Regions from separate parts of the Homo sapiens genome. Here regions 2, 3, 4, 5, 6 and 7 are each linked to region 1. Evidence: promoter capture Hi-C in 16 types of primary human blood cells and fetal thymus (Javierre and others, 2016). All regions are on one chromosome and are shown on one strand. Each heading gives the region's core, a stretch centred on a gene start or on the middle of the fragment in contact. The rest is flanking DNA. Distances are from core to core; before and after follow the strand shown. Region 1 holds the start of HNRNPA0 (heterogeneous nuclear ribonucleoprotein A0). Region 2 holds the start of GNPDA1 (glucosamine-6-phosphate deaminase 1). Region 3 holds the start of HDAC3 (histone deacetylase 3). Region 4 holds the start of DIAPH1 (diaphanous related formin 1). Region 5 holds the start of DIAPH1-AS1 (DIAPH1 antisense RNA 1). Region 6 holds the start of VDAC1 (voltage dependent anion channel 1). Region 7 holds the start of TAF7 (TATA-box binding protein associated factor 7).

Region 1 (4,019 bases), core at 646-3,145:
CAGTGAGGAATTCCTCTTAACTTCTTCAGCGTTTACCATATGGTTTTGGAGGCTTTTGGTCACGTAATGCCTCATATTAACTATGTCCCACCCCATTTATCTTGCTTGGCACACAAAGGCTCAATAAATGGAAGCCATTGTAATTTTCTTCCATTCCCATCTGAGTGAGGGCACTAAAAGCAGTAACTTAGGGGTATATGATCTCTCTCTCTGTAAAACATTCGTCTAACCCAACATCTTTAAAAAGCTAACATTCTACTTTTGGGAGGCCGAGGCGGGCAGATCACTAGGTCACGAGTTTGAGACCATCCTGACCAACATGGTGAAATCCCGTCTCCACTAAAAATACAAACATTAGCCAGGTGTGGTGGTGCCCGCCTGTAGTCCCAGCTACTTGGGAGGCTGAGGCAGGAGAATCGCTTGAACCCGGGAGGTGGAGGTTGCAGTGAACCAAGATCGTGCCATTGCATTCCAGCTTAGGCAAGACTCCGTCTCAAAAAAAAAAAAAAAAAAGCAAAGTTAACATTCTAGGCCAGGCGCGGTGGCTCACGCCTGTAACCCAGCACTTTGGGAGGCCGAGGCAGATGGATCACCTAAGGTCAGGAGTTTGAGACCAGTCTGACCAACATGGTGAAACCCCATCTCTGCTAAAATACAAAAATTAGCCGGGTGTGGTGGTGGGCGCCTGTAATCTCAGCTACTCAGGAGGCTGAGGCAGGAGAACAGCTTGAACCCAGGAGGCGGAGGTTGCTGAGCCGAGATTGCGCCAGTGCACTACAGCCTGGGCAACAAGAGTGAAACTCCATCTCAACAACAACAAAAAAGCTAACATTCTAGTTCAAAGAAAGCAACACATAGATGATGTAAATTACACATAAAAAACCATTCACTGAGGTTAAATGAAAATGTCTGCTGGAGTGTGCCAAGGGGACCTGAAAGGGCCTCCTCTGAGAGGGCATCGTGGGAGGGCTTCAAGGAGGGCGGGAGGGTGGCAGGGAGGCAGGGATGTCGCGCCTCGTCTGGTTCCTAATGTCTGAAGTTCTTTTGGTTCCCTGTTGTCTTTCACACCGCCGCCTCGGGCTCGCTTTTGCGCAGGGCCACGTGGCAAAGTTTTAGTTTAACCGCACGTCGGGCCCACTGTAAACGGTTAATAACCGCCTTCGTGGACCAGGCCTCTGCCCTCCATCTTTGTGCGGGCGGGAGGTGGGGCGGGGACGCCAGGTGTAGCGGACAAGCGGAGAGGCGGCGGGTAGATCCGGGCCCCCAACCCCAACAGTCAAGTTTTCAAAAAGCCCGCGCGTGGCGCCCCAGACCGCATCCGTTGGGAATGGCCCCCAGCGCGCCCCCTGCTCTCTCCCCGGCAAAGCCCTGGGCGGGAGAAGGCGCGGGGGTGGTAGGCCGGCTCTGCACGCCGGGGGCGCCGGGGCAAGCGCGCACCGGGGAGCGCGCCCGTCCAACAGCTGCCGAAAACGGAAGTGGGTGCGAGGGGATCACGGTGATTGGCTGAACTCAGATGTCTCTCAAGGGGCTGGCGCGAACGCCACTGCGGAGTTGGGCGAGGGGATGAGTAAAGGGGAGGGGGAGAAACACTGGGAACAGCCGCGGTGCTAGGAGGAAATGAATCGCGGTGGTGCGCGGAGGGCAGGGAGGGACCCATGTCAAGGGACAGTGGGGCGCTCGGGAATGAAAGTGGGCTGGCAGAAGCGGAAGCGGGAGCGGCACAGGCCGCGGGCTTGAATAGACCGCGGAGGGCGGGGAGTCCGTGATCTAGAGCGGCGCTGCGGCGCGGTAGGCGGGATTAAGGGGAGCGAGGCGGGGATTGGCTGGTAGCCCTAGGCTGCCGTACGTCGGCGGTGACGCACGCCTCGGGGAGGGTGCGCGCGCGTTCAGCGGCCTCTTTGTGTGGTGCCCAGATAGGGGAGCGGAGGTGGCGGCGGCGGCGGTAGCGGTGGCCTTGGTTGTCTTCCAGTCTCCTCGGCTCGCCCTTTAGCCGGCACCGCTCCCCTTCCCTCCCCCTTCCTCTCTTCCTTCCTTCCCTCCCCTTCCCTTTTTCCCTTCCCCGTCGGTGAGCGGCGGGGGTGGCTCCAGCAACGGCTGGGCCCAAGCTGTGTAGAGGCCTTAACCAACGATAACGGCGGCGACGGCGAAACCTCGGAGCTCGCAGGGCGGGGGCAAGGCCCGGGCCTTGGAGATGGAGAATTCTCAGTTGTGTAAGCTGTTCATCGGCGGCCTCAATGTGCAGACGAGTGAGTCGGGCCTGCGCGGCCACTTTGAGGCCTTTGGGACTCTGACGGACTGCGTGGTGGTGGTGAATCCCCAGACCAAGCGCTCCCGTTGCTTTGGCTTCGTGACCTACTCCAATGTGGAGGAGGCGGACGCCGCCATGGCCGCCTCGCCCCATGCCGTGGACGGCAACACTGTGGAGCTGAAGCGGGCGGTGTCCCGGGAGGATTCGGCGCGGCCCGGTGCCCACGCCAAGGTTAAGAAGCTCTTTGTCGGAGGCCTTAAAGGAGACGTGGCTGAGGGCGACCTGATCGAGCACTTCTCGCAGTTTGGCACCGTGGAAAAGGCCGAGATTATTGCCGACAAGCAGTCCGGCAAGAAGCGTGGATTCGGCTTCGTGTATTTCCAGAATCACGACGCGGCAGACAAGGCCGCGGTGGTCAAGTTCCATCCGATTCAGGGCCATCGCGTGGAGGTGAAGAAAGCAGTCCCCAAGGAGGATATCTACTCCGGTGGGGGTGGAGGCGGCTCCCGATCCTCCCGGGGCGGCCGAGGCGGCCGGGGGCGCGGCGGTGGTCGAGACCAGAACGGCCTTTCCAAGGGCGGCGGCGGCGGTTACAACAGCTACGGTGGTTACGGCGGCGGCGGAGGCGGCGGCTACAATGCCTACGGAGGCGGCGGCGGCGGTTCGTCCTACGGTGGGAGCGACTACGGTAACGGCTTCGGCGGCTTCGGCAGCTACAGCCAGCATCAGTCCTCCTATGGGCCCATGAAGAGCGGCGGCGGCGGCGGCGGTGGAGGCAGTAGCTGGGGCGGTCGCAGTAATAGTGGACCTTACAGAGGCGGCTATGGCGGTGGGGGTGGCTATGGAGGCAGCTCCTTCTAAAAGAAAATTTAAAATGCCTGGGAGTGGCTATAGGGGTAGCTCTTTCCAACAGCCCAAGTGGGGTCAACTCCTAAGCCCCACCCCCTCACACACACCGCCTTCCCTGTTTTGCCCTTGGGGGAGCCACTTCTAAGGCTGCTTACCCTTGGGGGTGTTCCTCTATTTGCCTGCCACCTCTCTTGTCTCTCCCTCTGAAGATGGACTCGGCCCCACATACACATTTTTGTGTTACAGTCATTGATGGACTCTATTTTTTTATTATTACTTGGACCTTGGTCGTTTTTATACTAGCAAAATGTCTTGTTTTAATTTGTGTTTTTTGGGGGGAGGGAGGGAGTGAACTTGCTGATTCTGTAGCAAAACCTGGGTGGGGGTTGGGGTGGGGGGTAGTTTACTTTGTTGTAAGGACTTGATAACCTGGCTACAGCGTTTTCTATGAAATCTACTTGGATCCCATGCCTGAAATTTGGAAGCATATGTACAAAAATCATTTTTACGTTTTATTTTTAATAAATCATTGTGTTTGACCGTACATGTCTAACATTTTTTTTCTAGGATCCATTCCGTACCGTTTTTTAAGGGATATTTGTTTAAGACTTTACGTGTTAATTCTTTATTCTTGATGTGTACTTAGAGAAACTTAAGAGGTCCTGTGGTTTTTTTCCCCTCTCCTGTTGCCCTGCTAGTTGCGTGTTGAATTATATCCCTTACAGGCAAAACTTTTGAAGTGGTGGATGTGGCTTTTTAAACTCTTAAGTTTCTGTGCATCCATCTCTTGTACTAAGCGAATTGTTTATCATCTTGACATGGTTGGTCATTTCTATGACAATTTACTTCAAACTGTGTACTGTGTAGTTCTATATAGTTTGTGTTAAGCATGTCATTCATATAAACTGTTTAAAATTTTTCA
Region 2 (4,019 bases), core at 572-3,071, 4.3 Mb before region 1:
GGTGAAACCCCATCTCTATTAAAAGTACAAAAATTAGCTGGGCATGGTGGTGGGCATCTGTAATCCCAGCTACCCGGGAGGCTGAGGCAGGAGAACTGCTTGAACCCGGGAGGCGGAGGTTGCAGTGAGCAGAGATCACACCACTGTACTCCAGCCTGGGCAACAGAGCGAGACTCCATCTCAAAAAAAAAAAAAAAAAGATTTCTGACTGAATTTAAAAATAAACAAAAACTACACCAACACCGAGCCATTCACAGCCTCTCAGGATTTGGAAAACAAAACAAAACAAAACAAAATAACACTGAGGCAAAGAGCAAGTCCCCCACACTGTAAAGGTATCAGCTCCACCATCTGGTCTCATCAGGGCCTCACCAGATGAAGCCTACCCCTAGCAAGCTGGTCTGGAGCTGCAGTTGGGCCCAAGGGCTGGGTGAGCGCCTGGGGCTGTCCACAGTGAGCAGATTCAGCAGAATTGCAGAACGTGGCCACCCGGCTGACTGAGGAAGGCCCTGTCCCGTGGGCATAAAGCCAGGATTCCTTTGGCCTTTTGCTGCTGGAGGAAAACTAGGCTGATTCAGAAGGTCTCACCACTGCTCCCTAGCACTGACTAAAGTCCGGGATGTCAGACTATGAGGTCATATATCACAAGTCTCTGTACGCCTTTGATCCCCAGTTTCCACATCAATAAAATGGCGGTAATCATATCTGACGATTGGGCGGGATTCTATGAAATAATGCGCACAAAGCTCTGGCAAAACCCTATGTAATGGAAGATGTTACTGATGACCAGCACTCAAGTCCTTCCTCCAGCCTCCGCATGGAAAGTTCCCAAGTGTCCCTAGAAGTCTGGAACACTCTAATGTTGACTGGAAAGAATAAGATGGATCTCTTTTTCTGATATGGAAGCGTCCCAAATCCAGTCATACCAGCTGGGAGGCAGTGCCCGCTAGCGGTAAAAAGCATGGATTTTGGATTTGGACAGATCCCCCTGAATTGAAGGCACAAGGGAAACCACTTGTGCCTCTGGCCAAGTTAATTTTTCTCTCCAAGCGTCAGTTTCTCCACCTGTTAAAAAGTAACGGCAAACCTACCTCACTGGAGCTTAATAAGGATTAAGTGAAATAATGCAGGTCAAATATCCGAGCCTTGATATATATAAGCCTCATGTGTATGTGTTCCCATTTATGTAAAATAACAGTGTAAGCATATTCAAAGAAAGCAATTCAGAATGTACTCTTAAACTAAGCAATGGTTATCTTGGTGTGGGGAGTTGGGGAAACCAGGGGCCTGCCTTTTTCTCTATTATATAATGCTGCAAAGTTTGATCTTTAAAAAAGGACATTAAAAAGCCCAATTGTACTTTAAACAACACAAGTTTTAATACTTGGGTAAATAAATGGCATCTAAACAAAGAAAGAAACTGAAGGCAGAGCCAGGCCCAACCCTAGGAGACTGAGGAAGCGATTCTGCTTTGCCTGCCCCCAGCTCAACCCCTGCACTAAAACCCCCCGGCCCCAGCCCCAAGGTCCAGGGGGTTGTATTCCTGGGGGCGACCCGGCGCCCCTCAAGTCTCCCTCCTCTTGCACACACACACACACAAACCAGACTCGAATCCCCGCCTCCCAAGGGAAAGTGTTTTTTAAGGTCTGTTCCAGGGCCTGCCGGGGCCAGGGACCGAGGTGGGACTGAGTGGCCGGAACTCCTCCACCTGGGAGAGTCGGTCCGGGTAGCTGCGGCCAAGCTGAGTCAGCCCGGCGGGCGGCGCACGCGGCGCCGCGTGACCCGCAGCCACGTGACCCGCGCGGGGCCGGGCCGCCGGCGCAGTCGCTGCAGCCGCCGCGGGAGGCGTCCGTGTAAGTGGGTAGCAGGGCTGGCGGGGACCTTCCTCGCGGGCCGGAGCGCGGAGCGCTGCCCCAGCCCTACGGCACTCGGGGTCGGGACCCCGGGGAGCCGCCCTCACACATTTTCCAGGAGGGATCGGAGGGGCGATGGGGTGGTAATGGGGGTGGGGGACACGCTGTACCCCACCGACGACCGCGCGGGCCACCTTCGCCTCTTTCCTTCACACTCCCACTAACCGCAGTGCTGGGGGAACAAAATGTCCTCCTTCTGGAGCGATTACCTTTTCCCTTTTGTGCTTTGGGGGAAACTGAAGACCCAGAGGGGTTCGCAAAGCAAGGTGGGCCAGTAGGAAGACCCCTCCGCTAGTCCAGAGAGAGCACACAGCTCCCCAGGCAGAGCTCATTGCCCCACCTGCTCTAGTGGCCCAGCATGATCCCATGACCTCTCTACTTCTGGAGGAAGAGTCTTGGGGTAGACGGCGGGGAGGGGGTAGGGTATCCCGTTCCGGTAGGGGCAGGGATGAGGGAGGCGGGGCTGAGCCGAGCATCTATCTGGATGGTAACAGCCAACGTAGAAAATACTAAGTTGTTTACATGCATTCTCTCATTTCATATTACCCGTCGTGAAGTCTGTGAAGTAGGTACTATTGTCCCAATTTTTACATAGGAGGAAACGGCTCAGAGAGAACTTAGGTCCTTTGACCGAGGTCCTGCAGGTGGTAAGTGAAGGAGCTGAGATTAGAACCCAGATCTGCCCCCAGTGGCGCCTCCTCGTGGTCTGTGGGTGGTGGAGACGACTGGCCTAGCCTCTTAGCTCCTCTGTGAATAGAAAGGCCTTTTTCCTGGCTCAGACAGCTTGGGAAGGGGATTGTTGCTGGGTAAGAGAAGCTTCTCCCACCACCTCCATCTCTTTCTCTGCCCCTTACCATTGATTCCTTTCTGTCATCCCCTCTCCCCCACTGCAGGACAAGATGAAGCTCATCATCCTGGAGCACTATTCTCAGGCGAGCGAGTGGGCGGCTAAATACATCAGGAACCGCATCATCCAGTTTAACCCAGGGCCAGAGAAGTACTTCACCCTGGGGCTCCCCACTGGTGCGTTCTTGGATGGAGAGGGTGCCGTGGATAAGGGTGGAGAGAGTAGGCAACAGGGGCCAGGTACACCGGCTCACTCAGCCAAGGGACTTCACGGGGGCTCTGGGGTACTGGTGCTGAGAGAGCACCTTCCTGCCCCTTCCACATACAAAGGACCCAGCTTCCCTTATGGGTTGGTTTAGTCGCTGCCTGTCCCTGCAGAATCCTGGAGCAGAAGGGATCTTGGTTGGCAGGAAGAATTTGATTTTTAGGCTACATCCTAAGTCAGCCCTGTCCACCAGGGTTTCTTAACAGAATTAAGTCCTGATACCCTAAGGCATTCATTTTATGTAATGAATTAATTTCTCTTCTCTGCATCTAGAGGGGTACCAGCTAAGTACCATCCTTGGGAGAATTGAAAAGATAGTCACTTAGGTAATTTTCTGTAAGGCTTAATTAAACACAGGACCTAAATAAAAAACAGTTCTAATTTCTTTTGGAAAAAATCAAAATGTTGCTTTTTCAGAAAGATATTTTGACCCCAGCTCCTCAAGACAAATGTCCTGATTATTTCTTTCAGAGATGGATGGGTTTGCCCTAGTGGCCCTACCTGACCCATCCATTAGCGTGTCTATGTGTGTGTGTGTGTGTTGGAGGGGTCTTCAAACTTGTTCTTTTTCCTTTTTTTTTTTTTTTTTGGTCTTCCTTGCAGTCCAGACTTTTTCTGTAAATGGCCAGTAGTAAATATGTTAGACTTCACTAGCCATATAGTCTCTGTTGCAACAACTTAACCCTTCTGTTGTTTGAAAGCAGCTATAATTAGCCTGGCATGGTGGCGCTCACCTGTAGTCCCAGCTTCTTGGGAGGCTGAGGTAGGTGGATTGCTTGAGCCAGTAGATTGAGGCTGCAGTGAGCCATGATTGTGTCACTGTACTCCAGTCTGGGTGACAGTGAGACCCTGTCTCAAAAAAAGAAAAGACAATATATAAGTGAATGAGTATGGTTGTATGCCAATAAAACTGTATGGACACTGAAGTTTGAACTTATATAATTTTCACATGTCACAAAATATTATTCTTCTTTAATTAAAAAAAAAACTATTTA
Region 3 (4,019 bases), core at 961-3,460, 3.9 Mb before region 1:
GCAAGCTAAGTCATGCTGGCCCTTGTTTCCAGCTCACCTGGACAGCTGCACTGTCCCTTCTCCTTCACTGTCCCCCAGCATCTCCTTCAAGGCCTCAGCATTGGCTGAGGGAAGAAGGAAAAGAGGGAGTCAGTGGAGGTGGAGGTCAGGGCAAGAGAAGGTTGGAGAAGAGGGAGCAAGGGGCTATGCTAGACCCACCTTCATTCTGGATGATGCAGCGAACAATCCTCTCTACTGTGTCCTCATTCATGTCATCGTCCTCAGCTGAAGGATGAAAGAGATTGGCAAGGAAGCAGGAATGAGTCAGCTTTGGGGGAATATTACCTGGTGGCTCCCATCATTTATTGCTTAGGACATACCCTTTTACCTACTTGCTATCATGCTGGACCTCAGCATTTCAGGGACCAGAAAAGATGGGGACACCAATGCAAGCCCAAGACTACCATCCAGAGGACCGTTCCTGCCCATGCTGCTTTCTCTAGTTTTGCTTTCAGAGTGGTGTCACCCCACTTGCTAACTCAAGAGTGCATCACTAGGCTTCCTGAGCAGGTTTGATCAGGATTTGGCCTGGGTCTGTTGGTCAGGGAGGCAGAGGTGTGGGGAGAAGGGTGAAAGGTGACTGAGCCAGGGTTCCAGGCTCCTCACTCACGGGGCTGAAGCTGGGCATCGTCAGGCTCAGAGCCCCTCGACGTGCGGCAGCGGTAGCCCTTCTTCTTGAGCACGTGGCAGATCATGAAGCCTACCAGGCCCATGAGGAAGAAGACCAGCACAAGCAGGAAGAGCATATATAGCCCATGTTGGGGCGGTTCCAGGTCAGGCTGTGGTTCCGACATGAGGCCCTGGGGGGCGAGCGCGGGCCAGGGCGCCTCCTGGGTTTAGGGGGCTGCAGCTGGGAATGGGGGAGGGGTAGGAATGCCGTCCTCAGGATCTGAAACAAGCACGTCTAAGACGTCCGGCTGAGGTCCGGCCCCACCCCCTACCCAACCAGGGAGCTGTCCGGGCCAGGAGTGCTGTTTCGCCTTTCGGCAAGAGGTCAGCGGCAACGCAAGCTCTCTACCACGACCCTGGTCCCGCTTCCCCGACGCCCCGAGCGTTCCCCTTTCCAGCTTGTTCGCGCTTCTGTCCCTCCCAAGGACACTGCAGCACGAGATGGGACGGCATTCTTAGGCGGCGGGAGCAGAAATCCTGCCTGAGTCAGCGCCCGCACCTCCTCCACGCCGGCCTGAGCCAGGCCTCTGCAGCCCCTTCCTCTCAGTACTCCCGCACCCCTCTCCCTTTTTGGTTTCTCCCACCCTGACCACCTGGCCGACCCGGTACCGGTGATTTGGTTCTGGTTCCGGCTTCTGCTGGGGTTCCGGCTCCAGGGGCGTCCTAGTGCGGCTCAGGGCCCCCGACGCCCTTCCGGCGCTCATCCCTTGATTCCTCCCCTCCCCCTTCGCCGCCTCACCGGCCCCGGGCTGTGGCTGCGGATACCCGCGCCGTGGCAGGCGGGGGGAGGGAAGAACAGAGAAGGATGCGGGCTGGCTGAGAGCGGTGGCAGGCTCCGGGCAACTCCGGCCCTGGGTCAGGGAGATCGCCTCCGCAGCCGCCCTGGCTTCCCAAATGCCTTCACCCGTCGCGGGCCCAGGACCAGGGGGCGGAGCGCAGGTGTGCGGGGCGGAGAGCGTGAGCTCTGCGCGCGCGTGACTGCGCCGGGCCCCCCCGGGGCAATGTGCGGCGCCGAGTCTGGGTCCGGGTAGGGGACAGGCGGTCCGGCGTGGGTGTTGTCCACTGGTCTATCCGGTACGCCTGGCGCAGCTCCTGCCCTCAGATGCCCCGACCGAGCGGAGAGTCAGGAATCTTCTCCGAGGGCTGGGGGAAGCCGGCTTTCCGCACCTTTGAGGGACGGAGTGGCGGGATCTTCGGAGCTTCCTAGAGAAGTGACCACGGCCTGCGCCCGGTTTGGGGCAAGCGGCTGGATGGGATGGCTCGGCTTCCCGAGGATCTGACCCCCGGCCGGAGACAAATGGCCCTCGCATCCTAGGAGCTATGCTGCCAGTTCCCTGCCCAACCCGGGACGCTCAAAGCCCCAGATACCGGGAGAGCTGAGCCGGGCGAGGGGCGGAGCTCCCCTGGGGGCGTGGCCTGGGTGTGGATGGAGGCGGGGCCGCAACGCCCAGTTCCGCAGAGGCCGGCTACGTGCTTGCGCAGCACGCACGGCCGGGGAGGGGCTGGCGGCGGCCGCGGGCGGCGGGCGGCGGAGGTGCGGGGCCTGCTCCCGCCGGCACCATGGCCAAGACCGTGGCCTATTTCTACGACCCCGACGTGGGCAACTTCCACTACGGTGAGGAAACAGGGATATGCATGAGGGGTTGGGACACGGAGGTTTTGAGGCGGGGTTGCAACTCCAGGGGTGAGAGCTGACGAACTCTCTTCTCCCCACCCCCAGGAGCTGGACACCCTATGAAGCCCCATCGCCTGGCATTGACCCATAGCCTGGTCCTGCATTACGGTCTCTATAAGAAGATGATCGTGAGTTCCGCCGCCTCGGCCGGGGGTTGGGGGGTGGGGCGAGCTGTGGCCGTAGGGATAGGTGGGCTGGACTGAGTGCATGAAGTGCGACCCGCCCCTAGAGTATCGGGGAGCTGGATAGAAGTCACCAGGAGTACCTTGAAAGTGCAGGGTGTTGGGGGTGGCGTCCTCTGCTTAATGGAAAGTACTTTCTCACCTCAGGTCGGCCACCCTCTGACTGTAGGCACACTAGCCCTTGGCCTAGGGTTAGCGTGATGTGGGGCTGGTTTGAAGACAGAAGGTGTGTTCCTCCTCTGCATTTTAGAGTGTGGATAGGGCCTTGGCCTCAGGAATTAGGGTTAGGGGAGCGGATATCACTGTATCAGGGTGTGAGGTTTACCCTCAGTTCCCACTCCTCTTTTACCACCTTTCTTTACCTCCAAGGAGCTAGGGCTCCAGGGTGGAACGATGCTGCCGTCTTTGTAAATGTGTATGTGCGTGTGGAACAGAGGCGATATTTTAGATATTCCTTTTTCAGCCTGGAATACCTCTACATGGTTCTGCTTAATCGCTATCCAGTTTTTCATCTACCAGACATACACATGCTGTCTTCCCAGCTTGGAATTTATGGCTGTGATATGGGATAGTAACAGTTAAGCCACGCCAGGCGTGGTGGCCCATGCCTGTAATCCCAGCACTTTGGGAGGTTGAAATGGGGGGGATCGCTTGAGGCCAGGAGTTGGAGACCAGCTTGGGCCACAGTGGGACCCACATCTACAAAAAATAAAAATAAAAAAAGTAGCCATGTGCGGTGGGTGTGCCTGTAGTCCCAACTACTTGGGAGGCCGAGGCGAGAGGATGGCTTGGGCCCAGGAGTTTAAAGTTACAGTGATCTATGATCAGCAGCCTGAGTTGACAGGGAGGACCTTGTCTCAAAAGAAAAAATAAGACAAAACAGCTAAACCCAGGCTTTATGTGTTGCTAGGGAAACTAGTGAACAATATGAATGAATGTTCATTGCTTGTGCCAAGGCACAGACAAATGGACTGGTCATAGAAAAGACTGAGGTGATGTTAGTGCAGGAATCTATATCCCTTGAGATTGTTTGCCTGTATGTACCTGTGTGCATTTTCTGGGAGAAGAAAAGCTCTTTCTTGTGCAGTTTTCAAAGAGGTGTGACACATCCCCCTGACCTTCCAAAGATAATAAATCTTTGATTTTAATTAGAAAGTTGACATATATCCCATATATTTGACTCCAGAAAGAAGAATCCAGAGGAAAGAGGACAGAATCAGAGCTTGGGGGAGGAGATGAGCATGGAGAGAACTGGGAATAGGAGATTCCAAGGAACAGGGCAGGTGGATCAGGGCTCAAAGTTGAGAAGGTACGATAGGCTGAGCTGGAGGTGGAAAGGAAAAGAAGTGGTCTTCAGGGGGCTCATTTGTAATAACTTACCTGGTTAATCGGAGTCTCTCTACTGACTTAAGGATTGTGGGATGAGGGGAATGCTATGTTTGGCTTCATATAGT
Region 4 (4,019 bases), core at 1,023-3,522, 3.9 Mb before region 1:
CTATTAGGGATGAGATACAGACAAGGATAGCTATCTGGGACATTATTGGCAGTGGGCCCTGGAGGCCAGTCCCTAGCCCCCCTTGCCCCTTATTTCTTCCCTGCTTCCCTCGAACCCAGAGATTTTTGAGGGATGAACGGGTAGACAAGGACTGAGATTGCCTCTGACTTCCTCCTCCCCTGGGTTCTGACTTCTTCCTCCCCTTGCTTCCAGGGAAGATGAAGAGAGAGAGATTTGGAAGGGGCTCTGGCTCCCTAACACCTGAATCCCAGATGATGGGAAGTATGTTTTCAAGTGTGGGGAGGATATGAAAATGTTCTGTTCTCACTTTTGGCTTTATGTCCATTTTACCACTGTTTTTATCCAATAAACTAAGTCGGTATTTTTTGTACCTTTCGCCTTTCTAGGAATGTTAATTCTTGCTAGTTTCCTATTTATGAAAGGAGAGGGAAATGGGCATGATGATGCATGTAATAAAAGCATAGTTAACATTCATTCAGCACTTATCCTACGTTAGGCCCTGTGTATGTATTCTACATTTATTATTGTAAATATAAGAAGTTAATAGAGGATTTTGGTTAAGAGTTAGACAAACCTGGGCAGATTTGAGAGGAGTAGAAGATGACTTCAGGTTTTTGAATCTGGGTGTTTAGAGTAGTGATGCTAGTTGGTGAAGATACACTGAGATAAAACATGTTAAGTGCTTAGCACAGTGCCTGACAGAAGAAGTTGCCCATTATCTGTCTATGTGAAGAACAATGCTAAATACTGTAGTAGCCACAAACATGAACCTTTCTCTAGAAGAGTTTACATTCCAGTCAGTAGTATGATAAATATTGTAGCAGATACAGACTGATACAAGAAAGAGGACTGATAGATGGGTCACTTCCTCCCCTCCATTCTCTGATTCTGTCTGTTCTCAACACTAGCTTAGAAAGTAGCTTTTGGACTTTTTAGACAAAATGTCTGGAAAGCTCAGCACTAAGTCAAGTTTGAAGTATGGGATGGACAGCTCTATGTAACATTCTATCCGATCACCATCAGAAGGTCTGGACCACAAGAGAGATGAATGCCAAATTTAGGAGCCAGCCAGCTTGGCAGAGTCCCTGGTATATCTCAGGCCCTTGACTAGGTACTGGGGCTCTAGAGTAAGTAAGTCACTGACTCTGCCCTTCAGGAACTTATGCTTGAAATCTTGCTAGCTGTGGTCAAGAATATTCAGTCCATATTGTGAAGGCCGACTGGTAGCCACGTAACTGTCACACAAGGGACAGATGTAGCTGGGAGAATGGATGAAATTGCTTAGGGAGAAAGTCATGCTAGAAGAGCAAAGAATATACTCTTGGAGAATACTCATTCTTTTCACTCATGTTTGGTTTATGTCAGTGGGGAATCCTGGTTAAACATAGGGTTTGGCAGCAAATCAGACTAAGCTGGGTTTAAATTTTATATCAATTATGCGTTCTTGGGCAAGTCACTTCAACTCTCAAAAGTCCAAATTTACTATTTATAAAATGGTGAGGCTAGCAGAATCTATCACATGGGACTGTGGGGACTTAGAAAAATACATGTAGAGTGTTTGCCTAGTGCCTAGCAGAGAGCAAAGGGCATGGTTAAGTGGTAACTGTTATTGCTGTTTAGGCACATGTTGGCAATAATTAGTTTGTCCTGATTAGAAACAATTAGATGGTACCTAACCTGGAATTCGAACTAGGAAATTAAACTCCAGAGCGAGTCTGGTTTAGTCTAGTGCTTGCCCTGGACCGAGCTCTGTTCTTGCTACCTTGCTTTCAAAACATGGTGGCTATCACTATAATTTTTTTCATGTGTTCCATGGGTATTGCACACATTGAAAACTGCATTCTCTTGGAAAACCTGTCACTAATTTTCTGCCAGGATAATGGTCTCACGCGATTTTTGGTCTGGGATGTGAGAGGGTCCAGGCTGTCAGGCTGTACAGCCACGTGGGCGCTGCGTGGGAGCCAGAGGCCTGCGCTGCTCCAACCGCCAGGGGGCGGTGCTCTCCGCCGCGGCCGCGGAGAGCTGCACCGCCCACTCACCACCCCCCCCCACGTGGGTCCGAATGGTTAGGTCCGCTGGGCAGGTAGCGCGCTTCCGCGGCTTCCCTCCGCCCCTCTCCCTTCCCCCATTGGTAGGGGCTGCGGGTCCGGGCGGAAGTGGGGCAGGCGGGCGGGAGCGAGGCGTCGTCGTTGTATATTCATGAGGCGCGCGCAGCCCGGCATGCTAATGAGGCGGGGCGCGGCGGCTGGCTAAAGAGCGACTGGGCGGCGGCGGGCGCGGAGCTGCCAGGCGGGAGCGGCGTAGGCGCGGGGTCGCCGGCCAGCGTGAACCGGGACATGGAGCCGCCCGGCGGGAGCCTGGGGCCCGGCCGCGGGACCCGGGACAAGAAGAAGGGCCGGAGCCCAGATGAGCTGCCCTCGGCGGGCGGCGACGGCGGCAAATCTAAGAAATTTGTGAGTGTCCCTCCCATCCCGCTCCTGCCTGGCCCCGTAACCGCCCTCTGGACCCCTGCAGCCGGCCCCTGGGGCGCCTGCCCGGCTTTGGGGAGCCGCCCCCGCGCCTTCCTTCCTCGTTTCGCTCGGTCCGCAGCTCTGCAGCCCGACATCCTCTCCCTTCGGGACCTCGGGAAGCCCCGGAATCCCACCCGGCTCTTGCCCCGGCCACCTCGGGGCTTCCCTCGTTCCCCAGCCCTTACATTCTGCCCTCCCGCCCGCATATCCCCGGCCGGCTCTCAGCCCCGTCTCTCCCCTCTCAGCCTCACTTCCTTTCTTCTTCCTCCAGTACCCGAACACGCCTCCTCTTTTTTGGTCCCCTCTTCTGGGTCCATTTTCTCTTCTTAACCTTACACCTTTTTTGGTATTCTCGTATTTCCTTCTCCTAAAGGTCACTTCCTTCTCCATGATTCATCCTTTTTACCTGCTAACTTTCCTCCCGCCCAGTCCCCCGTGGGCCCTCCGCCCGGTGTCACTTGATAATCCTTCCCCTGAGGAATGTTACCTGACTTGAGCCCTACCCCCAACTCCTTCTTTGGACGTTTGTCCTTGCGATTACAGGAATGGGCTCCTGCCCAGGTCCTATGGTCACTGGGGCATGACGTTTATTTGTTTACCAGTATTCCTCTCTCCAGAGAACCTCTCTCTTTGCCCTGTTGCTTATCACTTTTCAGAGGATTAGAACTCTCATGATTGTGCCCTTCTTGACCTAGGATGGTGATAAACCTCTCCTGTGGGAAGAAAGTTGGACTGCGAGTTCAAGAAGTTTGTAATTGAATTGTTTTTTATACATTTCCCATGATAACCGTCTCCTCTACTCCTTTTCTACTGCCTCTTGTGCCCCAAGGCGACTATCGGCTTCCCTTTGCGTGCCTGTAGAAGAGTAAGCTTTCCTCAAGTGCCAGTTACTTTCAATCCGAGTGAAGGAATAGTGATATACATGTAACCCTATCATATTTCATTACCTTTTGCCCACACCAACGCCTCTCTCCAGGGAGCCGTTTGGTTGCTTTTTTGCTATAAAAGCTTTGTAAGATACGGGGCACTGTCCAGGAGAGGAAAAGTCTTGGATATTGATGATCATTATAATAGCTAGTTATAACTGTAGCTCTTTTGTCTTCTCTTCCAGGTATTTATGCCCTTACACTAGTGTATCTTTCTACTAAACAAATGGCTTGTAACTCTTAGTCCCACCTCCCAACATTTTGACCCAGCTCCACAAATTTGGGAAGAAAACTGATAAAGCGATGGAAACAGGAAGAAAATGTTGTTTTATGACCTAGAGGGTTGAGATGTTAACCCTGGAGGGTTAGATGTTTAATTCTAAATAGAATTAAAATAGTGACTCATCTCTTCCTATTTCTAGCAAGACCAAGTGCTCCTGGACTGCCCTTTCCAGTGATATCTGAGATGTCAGTAACCATCTGTTTTTATCTGGTGAACATCTTTTTTTCCCCCCCTAGAAATATAAGGTTAAGGGTATTGACACCCCCTCCTTCTTTGGTG
Region 5 (4,019 bases), core at 1,041-3,540, 3.8 Mb before region 1:
TAAATTATGAATACCTATTTAATGTCAGATTTGTGACAGGGGATTATCAACTATTATTTCCAATTATCAAAACATTATTTCCATAATGCCTAATTGGTATTATCTTTGTTTTATAATTGAGAGATATAAAAGAGAATTAATATGTCCTTTGCTTGTTAAGATTTTATAGCAAGTAAACACCAAGCCAGAATTTGAGCCTAGATATATTGGGCTCAAATCCAGCACTTAGTGAAAGGGAGTGGCAAGAATGCAGGCATGTTGAGAGAAACCTCAGGTGCTTGCTTCCAGTGACTGACAGTGTAAAGTAACTGTGCTAGTGCTTCTTGATTTTTACCAGTGATTAGTGTCCTGATTTCTTCAACAAATAAATTTCAGGGGAAAAAATGAGATGGAGAGGAACATATAGATTAAGAGGGAATTTTAAATTTTATCAACCAGTACAGTATATGGAACTTATTTAGATCTTGATCCAAATGAACTATACAAAACACTTGACAGTTGAGACAGCTGGAAATTAGTGTGATAATGGTTTCATGGCATTTTTTAAAAAGTCATCATCTTTTAGAGATGTGTACAGAAATAATTGCGGATCATTATGGGATTTAGAAGTGGGGTGTAGATGAAACAGAATTGGTCACGAGTGGATAACTGTTGAAACTGAGTGATGTATGCATGGGGATTAATAATTGTGTTTTTGAATGTTTAATTTTTCCCATAATAAAACATTTTTTAATCCAGGAAAAGAGTTTTATTTCTAGTACCTTATTTTAATGCCTTTTCTTCTGCCCTCTAGCCTATTGTTTCCTTGCATAAACCTGTCCTCTTTGCTGACATACCTGAGTCCTTGTTTGGGATAGTGCCTGTCCTTCCAGTCCTTCCCCACCCACATCCTAGAAGCAGACCTCTTTTTAGCACTCCCTAATTGAGTCACCATCCTGGGTGTGCTGGGAAAGTATCTGTGGGAAACTCAATGACTATATTATCTGAAAGACCAAATGCTTGGTGAAGTGCCCAGATTTTTAATACTGCTTTTCTGCTACCCTTCCAGACTTATATCTGTCCCCTTCTTTATAACTCTCAGCATCTGGTTCTTCCTTTGGGATTCTGTGTGGCTTTGTTCTTGTCCTTTAGGTTTGTTCATTAATGCCAGTTTGCCCTGTCCCTCCTTACAGCTTGCACATCTGTAATGGTCTAGTTCTGTGGGATTTTGCAGATAGTTGTATATTTTGGCCAAGGTATCAGTGATACGGTTACCTTTGGGCAGGGATAACTGCTATTCGGTTGGCATGATATTTTTTCCTTCTATAATGTATACCTTAGTGATTGTTTTAAAGTGCTGAATTTATCCCTTATGTATATTACAACCATGAAGAATATAAATCAGAAGTCCTCCATTTGGGCAGCTTCTTATATTAACACTTATATTAACATTAAGACCCTCTTACTGTCTCCTCTTCCCAGAATTAGAGAGTTGATGTAGTGCTTAATAGACATGGCTTATTGTATGCTAGGTGAACTTGGCAATTCCATAGCTATGTTACCCTCACAGAAAGTTATTTCCTGGAGAGATTATTAAGTGTTCTGATCTTTCATATATGCCTGAGAGATCTAAGATTCTTCCACAAAGACCCTATTTCTTCAGAGAAAACTATAGTGATGCCAGAGTCTTTTTTTTTTTTTTTTTAACAACTTGTGATTTTTGTGCACCTGTGTTGTATGTGTTGCCATTATCTCACTTTAGGGACGTTGGATAAACTGGCGTATTTGTGCAGCCTCATTTAAGTAGTGGCAACCATTAATGACTTGTACCCACAAGTTTTTCCAGATAATTTCTGTTTTTTCCACCTTTCTTACATGTTCTTTTTTAGTCATAGGTACTTGGCTTACTCAAGGGAGGTGTAGCGTAAGATAAAGATAATGGAGGGTGTTCCCTGTAGAATAGGTACAAATGCTGCAGGCTTTATCTTGGGCAGAGCAAGTAGGGTTTTGGTCCTGAGTAAGTGAGTGAGGTTAGGTGGAGCTGCCTGTCTTCCAGCCGTGCGGATACAACTGACTCAGTCCGTGTTCTCAACAGTTTTTGAAAAGCCCATTTTTCTATCCCACTTACTCCCACCTGCAGTTCTTTAAGAACGTAGTTTCCAGGATGTCAGGCAACTCCCCACTCCTCCATTTCCTGTTTGTGGTCTTCATTGAGAGACGCCTTAAACAGGAATTCCTGGGGAAGTGCAGGCTATAGCGGTGGGATTCCGGGGGTCATTAGTCCATTATTGAAGCTGGGGAATCATGTACTATAAAAGGACCTCCCTTCCGTTCTGTTGTCTCCTAGAAACTATTACTGATCATAACCAAGCAGTAACTGCAACTCAGGGCTGTTGACTTGTGCCCTTTGTCTTTAGAGACTGAAAATTATTTTCCCTTCTTGTGCCTCAGTTTCTATTAGTTGAATTTTAGAGCTCAACATCAAGATTTGTGACAAAATTAACTTGGACTCTGTAGGACTGATTCGTTTGAAATGCAAAAGTAGTGAAGAACATAAAACAGACTCCCTATCTTGGCCGCCAGGGGGTGCCCTTTCCCTTCGCTTTACTGTCTGGCACTCCCCACCGCATTCAGCCATTTTAGACAGATTGTTTTTGCTCCCAGCTAACTCCATTTTGTATTTGTGACGCAGGAATAAAAAAAGGAGTTAGGCAAAGGAGGAGTCTGGTTTGCAGAGGGAGGGAGACTGGCTGAGGCGCAGCTACGTACTCTTTTACTCAGCAGTTGCTCATCAGGGACACACCTTGCTGCAGGCTGCCTGCATCCTGAGCAATCGATGCCGCAAGTCCTTGCCAGCGGAGCACAGAGCAAAATGGTTTGGCTGCCGGACACCTACTAACAGTGACAGAGTGCTAGCTTTTGAGGCAGCAGGCCAGGGCATCCCCTCTGCCTCATCTAGACTCTAATCCTGGGTTTAGGTGTTTTTGCTACAGAGATGTTTAGGGCAGTTTTCTTAATTATAGGATCAGATAAGAAAAGATACCCCCAAAAAAAGAAGAAAAAAAGGAACCCCTTTCACTTAGCTGTCTGGGAAGAATCAAATGCCCCAAGGACTCTAGGGAAATGGTCCTGAATTTTTTTAAAAAATGTTATTTTTGAAACCGTGAAAAAAATGCACGCACACATACACACATATATGTAAAGAGACTAGTATGAACACCCCTATGTCCATCACCCATTTAAAAAACTTAATCAACAGCTAGTCTTGTTTCATATACCTGTATCAACTTTGTCTTTGCCACCCATTATTTTTACATGTATCCTTGTTCATATTATTTAATCCTTAAGCAGTTCAGAATGTGTGTCAAAAAAATTAGGACTTTTAAAAGAAGATAATTACTACCATTATCACATTTAAAAAATTCTTTATCATCAGATAGCCAGTTAGTATTAAATTTCCCAAATTATCTTATGATAGTTGTTTTTTTTAATAGTTCATTTGAATCAGAGCCAAATAAAGTCTACACATTGCAGTTGGTTGATGTCTCTATAGGTTCTCTCTTATGCTCTTTTTTATTTTTTATTTTGCAATTTATTTATAGACTTAATTTCTTTTAAAAAGATCTCTGCCAGGCGCGGTGACTCACGCCTGTAATCCCAGCACTTTGGGAGGCCGAGGCGGGCGGATCACGTGAGGTTGGGAGTTTGAGACCAGCCTGGCCAATATGGCGAAACCTCGTCTCTACTAAAAATACAAAAATTAGCCGGGCCGCCTGGTGGCGCATGCCTGTAATTCCAGCTACTCGGGAGGCTGAGGCAGGAGAATTGCTTGAACCCGGGAGGCGGAGGTTGTGGTGAGCCAAGATTGCACCACTGCACTCAAGCCTGGGTGACAGAGTGAGACTCCATTTCAAAAAATAAATAAATAAATAAATAAAAAGAAGATCTCTCAGGTTGGGACTGAGAAGATACAAAGCCAGACTTCCCTTCTTGCCAGAGCAGAGCCTCTTCTTTAGGATTTCCCACAGAGGCTATTGGTG
Region 6 (4,019 bases), core at 709-3,208, 3.7 Mb after region 1:
AAACTTACACCAACACTCTGAAGCTGAGGCTCTTAGAGGCCAGCCTTCTTGCCTGGGTCACGCAGCCACTAAGTGAGTGGTTAATCTGAAACTAGCACCTAGGGGAGCTGGCGAAGGGGCCCAGGGTAGCAGAGGCCATGAAGAACTCTTTCCAAGTTGTTGTTTTTTTTTGTTTTTTTTTTTTGGGGGGGGGGGACAATGTCACTCTGTCAGTCAGGCTGGAGTACAGCGGCTCAATCTCAGCTGACTCCAGCCTCCTCCTTCCAAGTTCAAGCGATTCTCGTGCCTCAGCCTCCTGAGTAGCTGGGACTACAGGCGCGCGCCACCACGCCCGTCTAGTTTTTGTATTTTTAGTAGAGACAGGGTTTTGCCATGTTGCCCAGGCTGGTCTCGAAGTCCTGGCCTCAAGTGATCTGCCTGTCTCGGCCTCCCAAAGTACTAGGATTACAGGCTTGAGCCACTGCACCCGGCCCAGATTGGTTCTTTAAAGCGGAGTTGAGAGGTGGCGCTGGAGGGGAGGAAGCCCTTCGACATTTGCTCCCAGCCTCAAAACTGGGTTGCACCGGCATCTGTTCCTAGCCCTGTGGGGTTCCTGGAGCCCCGCCTTGTCCCGCCCGGCCTCCCTGAGTTCTTGTCCTCCCCCTGCCCACCAGTCTCAGTGTGCGGGGTGGGGACCACCAGGCTGGGAAGCCCAGAGTTCCCAGGCAACTCGTGCGCCTGGGAGGGTCATAGAATCCGTCCTACACTCCTCAGGATCTTGAAGGGGGCTCTTCCTTACATTCCCAGTCACCCCTCCCCCAGCCCCTACACAGGGCCTAGGTAACCTGTCTGCACCCCACTCCCACTCTGTATCAGCTGCCCTCTTCCTCAGCACCCTATCCCACTGGAGCACCTTTTCCAACTCCAGTCGCCACTTTTAATCTGCCGCCTTTTCCCAGCAGCCAGTCCTGATTGCCTCCTCCGTAGCCCCAGTTGCCCACTGCTTTAGATAGTGTCGCAGCTGGCTGTGAGGAGTGTCCTGATTCTGTAACCCGGCACCTCCTCCACAGGGCCCTAGACGCCTCAAGCCTTCCAGGACGTTTGTTGATCAAAGGCGAAGGATGTGTAGAATCTTCGTCCATCTACGAATTAATTCTCGAAACCTGCTTCGAGTGGGCCTCGCGCGTAACACAGGGGACACTCAGTGGTGAACGAGACCACTCGCTTAGGCCTAGCAGCGAGGTGACCGTTCACTCAACACACACTAACTGGGTCCCGCAGGACACGCCCCGGCTGGTCGCGGGGGTTACCCGGGGTGCCCTCAGTCGGCCGGCCGGCCATAACCGGCGTGATCTCCTCGCGCCGAGAGACCCAGCAGGGACCTCGCAAAACCCAATCCACGTTTTGTTTTATTTTGTCTTTTTGCCTCTCAAATGCATGGAAATTGGCTGCTAGTAGCTTTGCTACAGGAGAAAATCGCTAATCTGTAGTGCAAAATCGGCGCACAGGGGTTTTCTCTGAGATTGTCTAGACGCCGCGCGGGCGGGTCGGAGGCGCCAGACACATTGTATCCGGAGCGCGGAGCTCGGGAGCAACAGTCGCCGCCTCTACTCTGTATCTGCGCCGCCCCAGGCGCCCAGTGTCCGCGCTGGGCCTGGGACTGCCCTCGGGGGATGGGGCCCACGCGGGCTTTGATGGGGGGCCGGGGGCCACTTTGTCCACCCAGGCGAGGCTTGGGTCCAGCGCCGGCCACATCAACTCCCGGGGGATCTAGCAGCGCGGAGGCCAAGCAGGAGGCCCAGGAGCCCCGCGCGTCTTCCATTAGCGCAGGGACCTCCGGGCCACAGCTCAGAGAATCGGAAGGCCTCCTCCCCCTTCCCGAGCGCTGCCACTGGGGCCGAGGTTTCCAGCAAGAACCCGCGTGTCCCTGCGCACGCACACACGGTGCACACGTCAGTCCGGCGCCTCCCCGTGCCCCGACTCACGCAGGTCCTCCCGCGCGCCCGCAACACGCCCGCAGGCTCCTGTGTCTGCTGCCGGGGCAGCGGGGCCCGGAAGGGTAAGAACGCGGCTCGCTAGCGGGATGGGGACCCTGGCCCGGCCTGGACGCTGTCCCGGGCGGGGCCTGGGGGCGGAGCGCGCCGGGCCGGGCGCGCAGGAGGGGAGGCGGGTCCGCGCCGCCGCCGTCCGCGCCGCCCCGCCCTTGGCCCAGCCGCTCGCTCGGCTCCGCTCCCTGGCTCGGCTCCCTGCCTCCGCGTCGCAGCCCCCGCCGTAGCCGCCTCCGAGCCCGCCGCCACATCCTCTGAGGTAGGCGCAGCGGAAAAGGACCCCGGCTTCCTTGCGCCCTGGACGGCGGGGGCCAGGCCCCTGGGGAGCTGAGAGGGAGGCGCTGAGGGAGGAGCGGGCGAGGGGCCCCGGCAGCCCGGCCGCGGGGAGGGATCGCGAGCGGCCGGCGCGGGCCTGGCTGGTGAGCGGGCGGGCAGAGAAGGCCGCACAGGCGGGTGCCGAACAGGTCTGGGCTGGGGAGCGCGAGGCCGAGGGTCCAGAGACGCCTGCGGCTGGCGGCGAGAGGCGGCCCGGGCTTGCGGGCGGAAGTGCAAGGGCGGCCGCGTGGAGGCCCGGCGGGCCGCGCGTCTAGGTGACCTTCCCCGGCGGCGCCCTCTGGCCCTGGATCCCACCAGCGTGCATCCGGCGGGGACCCGTTCGCCGCCCACGCTCGCCGGACCAGGCCAGCGGGCGGGTGCCGGCCACGCTGCCGCCTCGGGGATGAGCTCACGTGACGACCGTGGCCCCGAGTCCCCAGGCCCACGCGCCCTGGCCGGCCCACGCCCGCAGAAGCTGGCGCCCGGCACCGCCCGCCTGTGCCAGAGCCTTCTAGAGCGGAACGCGCCGGCCGAGAGTCGACTTAGGCGGTAGAGGCCGGAGCTCGGGCCTGGGCTGAAGGTTTGGCCTCGGAAAAGGAGGCCCCACGGGGAAGGATGTGGCCTTCTTGGTCTTAGGAGTGATTACTGGTTCGGTCGTTCATTCATTCGCCAAATGCGGCGGTGCATTCTGGAAACTGTTTCGGAGCCTGACTTTGGATTAGAGGCCCGCAGTCTTAGTGGTTTGTACAAGGTCACACAGCTGGGAAGTCCCCATACCTTCGTTTTCTCATCTATAGGACGGGAGCAATTGTACCTCTCCTTCGATGAGTTTTGGGGAATAATAAAATGAATTAATTAGCATGAAACCTTTAGAACAGTGCCGGTGTGGAGAAGGGCTAAGTAGAAACCCTGACACCCTTGGGGCTTTTTGGGTGAATCCAGCCCATCCCCCGCAGACCATTTTGCTACACGTGGCGTTGTGGAAGGGGTTCAATAAATGTAGCTCCTGTTTTTAAACATTCTTTCACTATTATTGACAAGCATTTGTATACCAGGTATTGAGTAACTTTCAGCTTAATTTATGAAAAATCTTGTAAGTTTACAAATGGACATTGTCAAGCTGGAGCAGTAAGTTTGCATGTGGAGATCTTGAATGCAGGAGCAGACCCTGGTTTAGAGCCCGTTCCGCCCGGGGTCCCTGTCCCCTTGACTAGCCTCCCCTCTCCTGGGGAGATAGGGGAAAGGGCTCCTCTGTTGCCTAAACTTCTCCACTGAGGCAGGAGAAGGCCAGAGCAGACTACCGAGGGCCAGCCTTCATTCTGCCCACCCCAGCTCTGGACCAACTCAGCTCCTAAGGGTCAGACTGAGGCACTGAGGCCCTGTGCTACTTTGTCTTCAGTGCCTGGGGTGGTGCTGCCTGGCACACAGTAGGTGCTTGAGAAGGGTCTGTGGGGGTAAATGCACTCTTGTGTCAGAATCCACCCATCTTTACTGACAGAGTTTTACTATTCCAGTACATGGCCCATAGTAGGTGCTTATTGAGTATTTGTGGAATTATTGAATGGGCATATGAAGGGCTGCAGGCCCAGACCATAGTCCTTTGATCCTGGACTTTTTTTTTTTTTGAGACAGGGTCTTGCTCTGTTGCCAGGTCTGGAGCGCGGTGGCACCATAACG
Region 7 (4,019 bases), core at 1,091-3,590, 3.6 Mb before region 1:
GTAGAAATGGGGTTTCACCATGTTGGCCAGGCTGGTCTCGAACTCCTGACCTCAGATGATCCATCCGCCTTGGCCTCCCAAAGTGCTGGTATTACAGGCATGAGCCACTGCACCCAGCAGATTATCTTAATGTCTACTGATAAATCCAATTTAAAAAAATATTTAGGGTCAATATAATTTCCTCCCCTAAAACAGCATATAGAAAATGTGTTAAACTCAAAAGCAGAAAATGTATTTCAGGACTGAAGGAGCTAGATACATTAAGAAAACCTCAGTTAATCCTTTTAACTATGTCTGGCAATATTCCATGTAAAGAAAGGTTTAGAAACTAAAATACACAGTAATTTTGGAAAATGAAAAATTGCATACAATTTATCTCAAGTTACCTTCTATGATAAGAATATTTGAGCATCATAAAACTCATAGGGAAGATGCTGAGTAATATTTGGATTATTTTCATGTATAATGACCTCACATTGTATATGGTTAAACAAAACACAGCCAGGCGAGGTGGCTCAAGCCTGTAACAGAAAAAACTTCATCTTTGAAAAAGAGGAAATAGATCATTCTGGAAATTACAAGTAAGTCAGCTAACATTCTTCAACACATTATAAGCAAAGAGAAATAATTTACCGTTATCTGGAAGGGCATACTTTCTCTTTTAAAATTAACATTAAAAACCAAACTAACGTCAGGTCATTTTAATTTCCTCCCACAACAGTATCTCATTCTAGCTAAACCACATTCACACACACTATTAGTAAACCTCCCCACCTCATAACAATTAGAATTGTCCTTGACTAGAAAGGAAATGTATGTAAAGTGGCTCTATCTCATTTTAAAATGACAAAGAATGTATTTTCTCTCAGAAATCACTACAGGATTTGAGACTATGATCTTTCTAGACAGATAAGTTTTTTCATTCAATTAGCAAATATTTTTTGTGTATCTCCCACATTCTGGTACTAGGCACTGGGACACAATGACCAGGATAGAAGAAGATCACTATCATGGAGCTTTCAATCATACAAGAATAAAGTGAATTTTGGAAATGTTAATTACATCTTAAGAGAATTCTCTTAAATTTAGGGGCAATTGTTAATATTTTAGAGGATAGAAATGAAATATTAATGGCCTTGATGCTCTCCCAGATATTTTAAAAATAAATGGAAATAAATAGAAATAAGTACCAACTGTTACCCAGTTATGTTAAAATACTAAAAATATGTGTTGATGAATACCTGACTATTGATAGAAAAGACAAGCAGAAAACAGCAAAATAGTAGAGGTGGAGTTAAAAAAAATGTCAAAGTAATTTAAAATTACTTGTACATGAGAGACAGGAAACAATACTTCAATTATATCTACTTTAACCAGATGCTCAGTCTATCAGACAATTCTGTCCAAAAGAACACTTCCTTCTCTGTTTACATTTACATCTAAATCAAGCACATAAAAAGGAATCACCCTTGTTTCCCCAGAAGTATTATAGAACACAAGTAAAACCAGAGGCACAATTCCCCTACAGGGAATTATATTTAAAAATACAGACTTTGGGCCATGCGCGCTGGCTCACACCTATAATCCTAGTACTTTGGGAGGCCAAGACAGGCAGATCACCTCAGGTCAGGAGTTCGAGACCAGCCTGGCCAACATGGTGAAACCCCTTCTCTACTAAAAATACAAAACTTAGGTGGGGTAGTGGAACGTGCCTGTAATCCCAACTACTTAAGAGGCTGAAGCAGGAGAATCGCTTGAACCCCAGAGGTGGAGGTTGCAGTCAGCCAATATTGTGCCACTGCACTCTAGCCTGGGTGACAGCCTGAGACTCCATCTCCAAAACAAACAAACAAACATATATATAGAGAGAGACTTATATAGTAAGCTGCATGTCCTCCTCACTCCATTGATTTGGGTACTTTGAAATCCATTGTATAGTAGCTACACATTCTTGTATTGGCACCAGATAGGCTAGACTCTAGGGAACATCCGAGATGTTTCCAGAAGCAAAGACGCTTACTGCAAGGCGTCCCCCATCTCCCGGAATCACCCGGAAGTCTAGAAGCCATCCGGCCCCACAGCGATCCCGTAAAAGTGCTGGCTTAGCGGGGGACGAATCTGTGTCTTTCTTGGAACTTCCAAGCTCTAAATAGTTTGAAACCAACAGCTCTTCCGAAACACTGTCATTTCCATCCCGGAAAAACAAGTTCTCGCGAAAAGATGAGTTTCACGCTGGGCAGCGTAATTGCGCTATTGCGCCTGCGCTAGCTGGGGCTCCGCCCTTCCGCCCGGAGGGGCTGTCACTCACAGCCGCCTCCCGCCCCGCGTCGCGACGTAGCACTTCCGTTTTTGCTGGGTAGGCGACCCGGACGGAGGGCCGGCGAGGTGCGGGGTCTGGTGATGCGAGCTGCGCCTCTCGGCAAGATTTCGCGCTGCCCATCCCGGGCCCTTTCATCAGTAATCGGTAGTGGATCACTCTGCCAAGCGGCAGGAAGAATTAAGGAAACGACAAGGAGACGCTCGGCTCTCTCCCGCTTGGCTCCTTGCGGCCTCCTCTTCCCTTCGCTCCGGCCCGGTGAAACTGAACTTATAATCGTCACTGGATTGTAAGTACCCGAGGCGAAGAGAGCTCGCTGAGCCCTGATTTTTTGAGTGTCTTTGTTCCGGGAGAGTTTGTGAGTTGAAAGTATCTCTGCTGGGCTTTCTGGGCCGAAAACCGTTCCGGGGGAGCCGCCATTTGCTTTCCTGTTCCCTAGCTAGCTAGCTAGCTCTCTCCGCGTTGTCCGGCAGCGGCACCTAGAGGTTGGGACTTGGCATTGCATCTGATTTAATGAACTTAAGTCTGTGAATAAGCCTTTGTGTTAACGACTGGTATTCGGTCACAGCATATTTAGAGAAAAGACTTGGAGCTTAAATAAAAACTAAGGCAAAATAGACGCTTAGCTGCTGATCTACAGAGAACTTCTTGTAATTAAAAGATTTCAATTCATAGCAAACTGGTGTTTTAAACTATTGCAGTAGCTGGAACTTTTTAGTGTAACCAGCATTTATTGGAGAAGTGAATCACAAGGAAATAAAGATGAGTAAAAGCAAAGATGATGCTCCTCACGAACTGGAGAGCCAGTTTATCTTACGTCTGCCTCCAGAATATGCCTCTACTGTGAGAAGGGCAGTACAGTCTGGTCATGTCAACCTCAAGGACAGACTGACAATTGAGTTACATCCTGATGGGCGTCATGGAATCGTCAGAGTGGACCGTGTTCCATTGGCCTCAAAATTAGTAGACCTGCCCTGTGTTATGGAAAGCTTGAAAACCATTGATAAAAAAACTTTTTACAAGACAGCTGATATCTGTCAGATGCTTGTATCCACAGTTGATGGTGATCTCTATCCTCCTGTGGAGGAGCCAGTTGCTAGCACTGATCCTAAAGCAAGCAAGAAAAAGGATAAGGACAAAGAGAAAAAGTTTATCTGGAACCACGGAATTACTCTGCCTCTAAAGAATGTCAGGAAGAGAAGGTTCCGGAAGACAGCAAAGAAGAAATATATTGAATCTCCAGATGTTGAAAAAGAAGTGAAACGATTGCTGAGTACAGATGCTGAAGCTGTTAGTACTCGGTGGGAAATAATTGCCGAAGATGAAACAAAGGAGGCAGAAAATCAAGGCCTGGATATCTCTTCTCCAGGAATGTCTGGTCACAGGCAGGGCCATGACTCATTAGAACATGATGAGCTTCGGGAGATATTCAATGACCTCAGCAGCAGCAGTGAGGATGAAGATGAGACCCAGCATCAAGATGAAGAAGATATAAACATCATTGACACGGAGGAAGATCTGGAGAGACAGCTACAGGACAAGCTAAATGAATCAGATGAACAGCACCAGGAAAATGAAGGAACCAATCAGCTGGTTATGGGAATTCAGAAGCAGATTGACAACATGAAAGGCAAGCTCCAAGAGACCCAGGACAGGGCAAAACGACAAGAGGATCTCATCATGAAAGTGGAAAATCTGGCTC

The links. Contacts are between HindIII fragments. The CHiCAGO score rates a contact against its expected background, and 5 or more counts as called.
Region 2: the fragment with the promoter of GNPDA1 here is called in contact with the fragment with the promoter of HNRNPA0 in region 1 in 2 of 17 cell types (neutrophils and activated CD4 T cells); the score reaches 6.6 in neutrophils.
Region 3: a contact is called between the fragment with the promoter of HDAC3 here and the fragment with the promoter of HNRNPA0 in region 1, in 2 of 17 cell types (non-activated CD4 T cells and fetal thymus). The highest score is 7.8, in non-activated CD4 T cells.
Region 4: the fragment with the promoter of DIAPH1 here is called in contact with the fragment with the promoter of HNRNPA0 in region 1 in 6 of 17 cell types (fetal thymus, total B cells, naive B cells and 3 more); the score reaches 10.1 in fetal thymus.
Region 5: a contact is called between the fragment with the promoter of DIAPH1-AS1 here and the fragment with the promoter of HNRNPA0 in region 1, in 4 of 17 cell types (activated CD4 T cells, neutrophils, naive CD8 T cells and 1 more). The highest score is 11.1, in activated CD4 T cells.
Region 6: the fragment with the promoter of VDAC1 here is called in contact with the fragment with the promoter of HNRNPA0 in region 1 in 1 of 17 cell types (total B cells); the score reaches 7.5 in total B cells.
Region 7: the fragment with the promoter of TAF7 here is called in contact with the fragment with the promoter of HNRNPA0 in region 1 in 2 of 17 cell types (naive CD8 T cells and naive CD4 T cells); the score reaches 7.1 in naive CD8 T cells.

The regions. Positions count from the first base shown.
Region 1 is chr5:137,752,239-137,756,257 of GRCh38, reverse strand. HNRNPA0 (heterogeneous nuclear ribonucleoprotein A0) reads left to right here and starts at 1,895. Exons shown (of 1, transcript NM_006805.4): 1 at 1,895-4,019. The coding sequence starts at 2,192. The coding sequence ends at 3,109. RefSeq lists a silencer at 1,176-1,535 and enhancers at 1,163-1,854, 2,116-2,465, 2,976-3,135, 2,545-3,236. The HindIII fragment of the contact is 5,253 bases long and covers 1-4,019 here.
Region 2 is chr5:142,010,829-142,014,847 of GRCh38, reverse strand. It overlaps GNPDA1 (glucosamine-6-phosphate deaminase 1), which reads left to right and starts at 1,821. Exons shown (of 7, transcript NM_005471.5): 1 at 1,821-1,853; 2 at 2,807-2,936. The coding sequence starts at 2,813. RefSeq lists a cis regulatory region at 282-554 and silencers at 1,696-1,965, 2,637-2,696. The HindIII fragment of the contact is 4,254 bases long and covers 1-2,731 here.
Region 3 is chr5:141,635,040-141,639,058 of GRCh38, reverse strand. HDAC3 (histone deacetylase 3) reads left to right here and starts at 2,210. Exons shown (of 15, transcript NM_003883.4): 1 at 2,210-2,323; 2 at 2,429-2,511. The coding sequence starts at 2,269. RELL2 (RELT like 2) reads right to left here and starts at 2,062. Exons shown (of 7, transcript NM_173828.5): 1 at 650-2,062; 2 at 199-264; 3 at 38-104. The coding sequence starts at 833. RefSeq lists enhancers at 654-773, 1,474-1,523 and silencers at 2,034-2,323, 2,384-2,433, 2,443-2,737. The HindIII fragment of the contact is 11,354 bases long and covers 1-4,019 here.
Region 4 is chr5:141,617,253-141,621,271 of GRCh38, reverse strand. DIAPH1 (diaphanous related formin 1) reads left to right here and starts at 2,272. Exons shown (of 28, transcript NM_005219.5): 1 at 2,272-2,474. The coding sequence starts at 2,358. It overlaps HDAC3 (histone deacetylase 3), which reads left to right. Exons shown (of 15, transcript NM_003883.4): 15 at 1-391. RefSeq lists silencers at 1,918-2,577, 2,638-2,687, 2,498-2,694. The HindIII fragment of the contact is 3,913 bases long and covers 1-3,403 here.
Region 5 is chr5:141,556,582-141,560,600 of GRCh38, reverse strand. It overlaps DIAPH1-AS1 (DIAPH1 antisense RNA 1), which reads right to left and starts at 2,290. Exons shown (of 3, transcript NR_038333.1): 1 at 2,114-2,290. All of the region lies in intron 18 of DIAPH1 (diaphanous related formin 1), which reads left to right. RefSeq lists enhancers at 2,405-2,699, 2,460-3,312. The HindIII fragment of the contact is 6,603 bases long and covers 1-4,019 here.
Region 6 is chr5:134,002,914-134,006,932 of GRCh38, reverse strand. VDAC1 (voltage dependent anion channel 1) reads left to right here and starts at 1,958. Exons shown (of 9, transcript NM_003374.3): 1 at 1,958-2,038. RefSeq lists enhancers at 1,115-1,184, 1,225-1,284, 1,355-1,474, 3,125-3,174, 3,185-3,234 and silencers at 1,645-1,694, 1,735-1,794, 1,855-2,894. The HindIII fragment of the contact is 5,979 bases long and covers 1-4,019 here.
Region 7 is chr5:141,319,105-141,323,123 of GRCh38, reverse strand. It overlaps TAF7 (TATA-box binding protein associated factor 7), which reads left to right and starts at 2,340. Exons shown (of 1, transcript NM_005642.3): 1 at 2,340-4,019. The coding sequence starts at 3,080. RefSeq lists enhancers at 1,812-1,961, 1,972-2,031, 2,612-2,811. The HindIII fragment of the contact is 5,333 bases long and covers 1-3,308 here.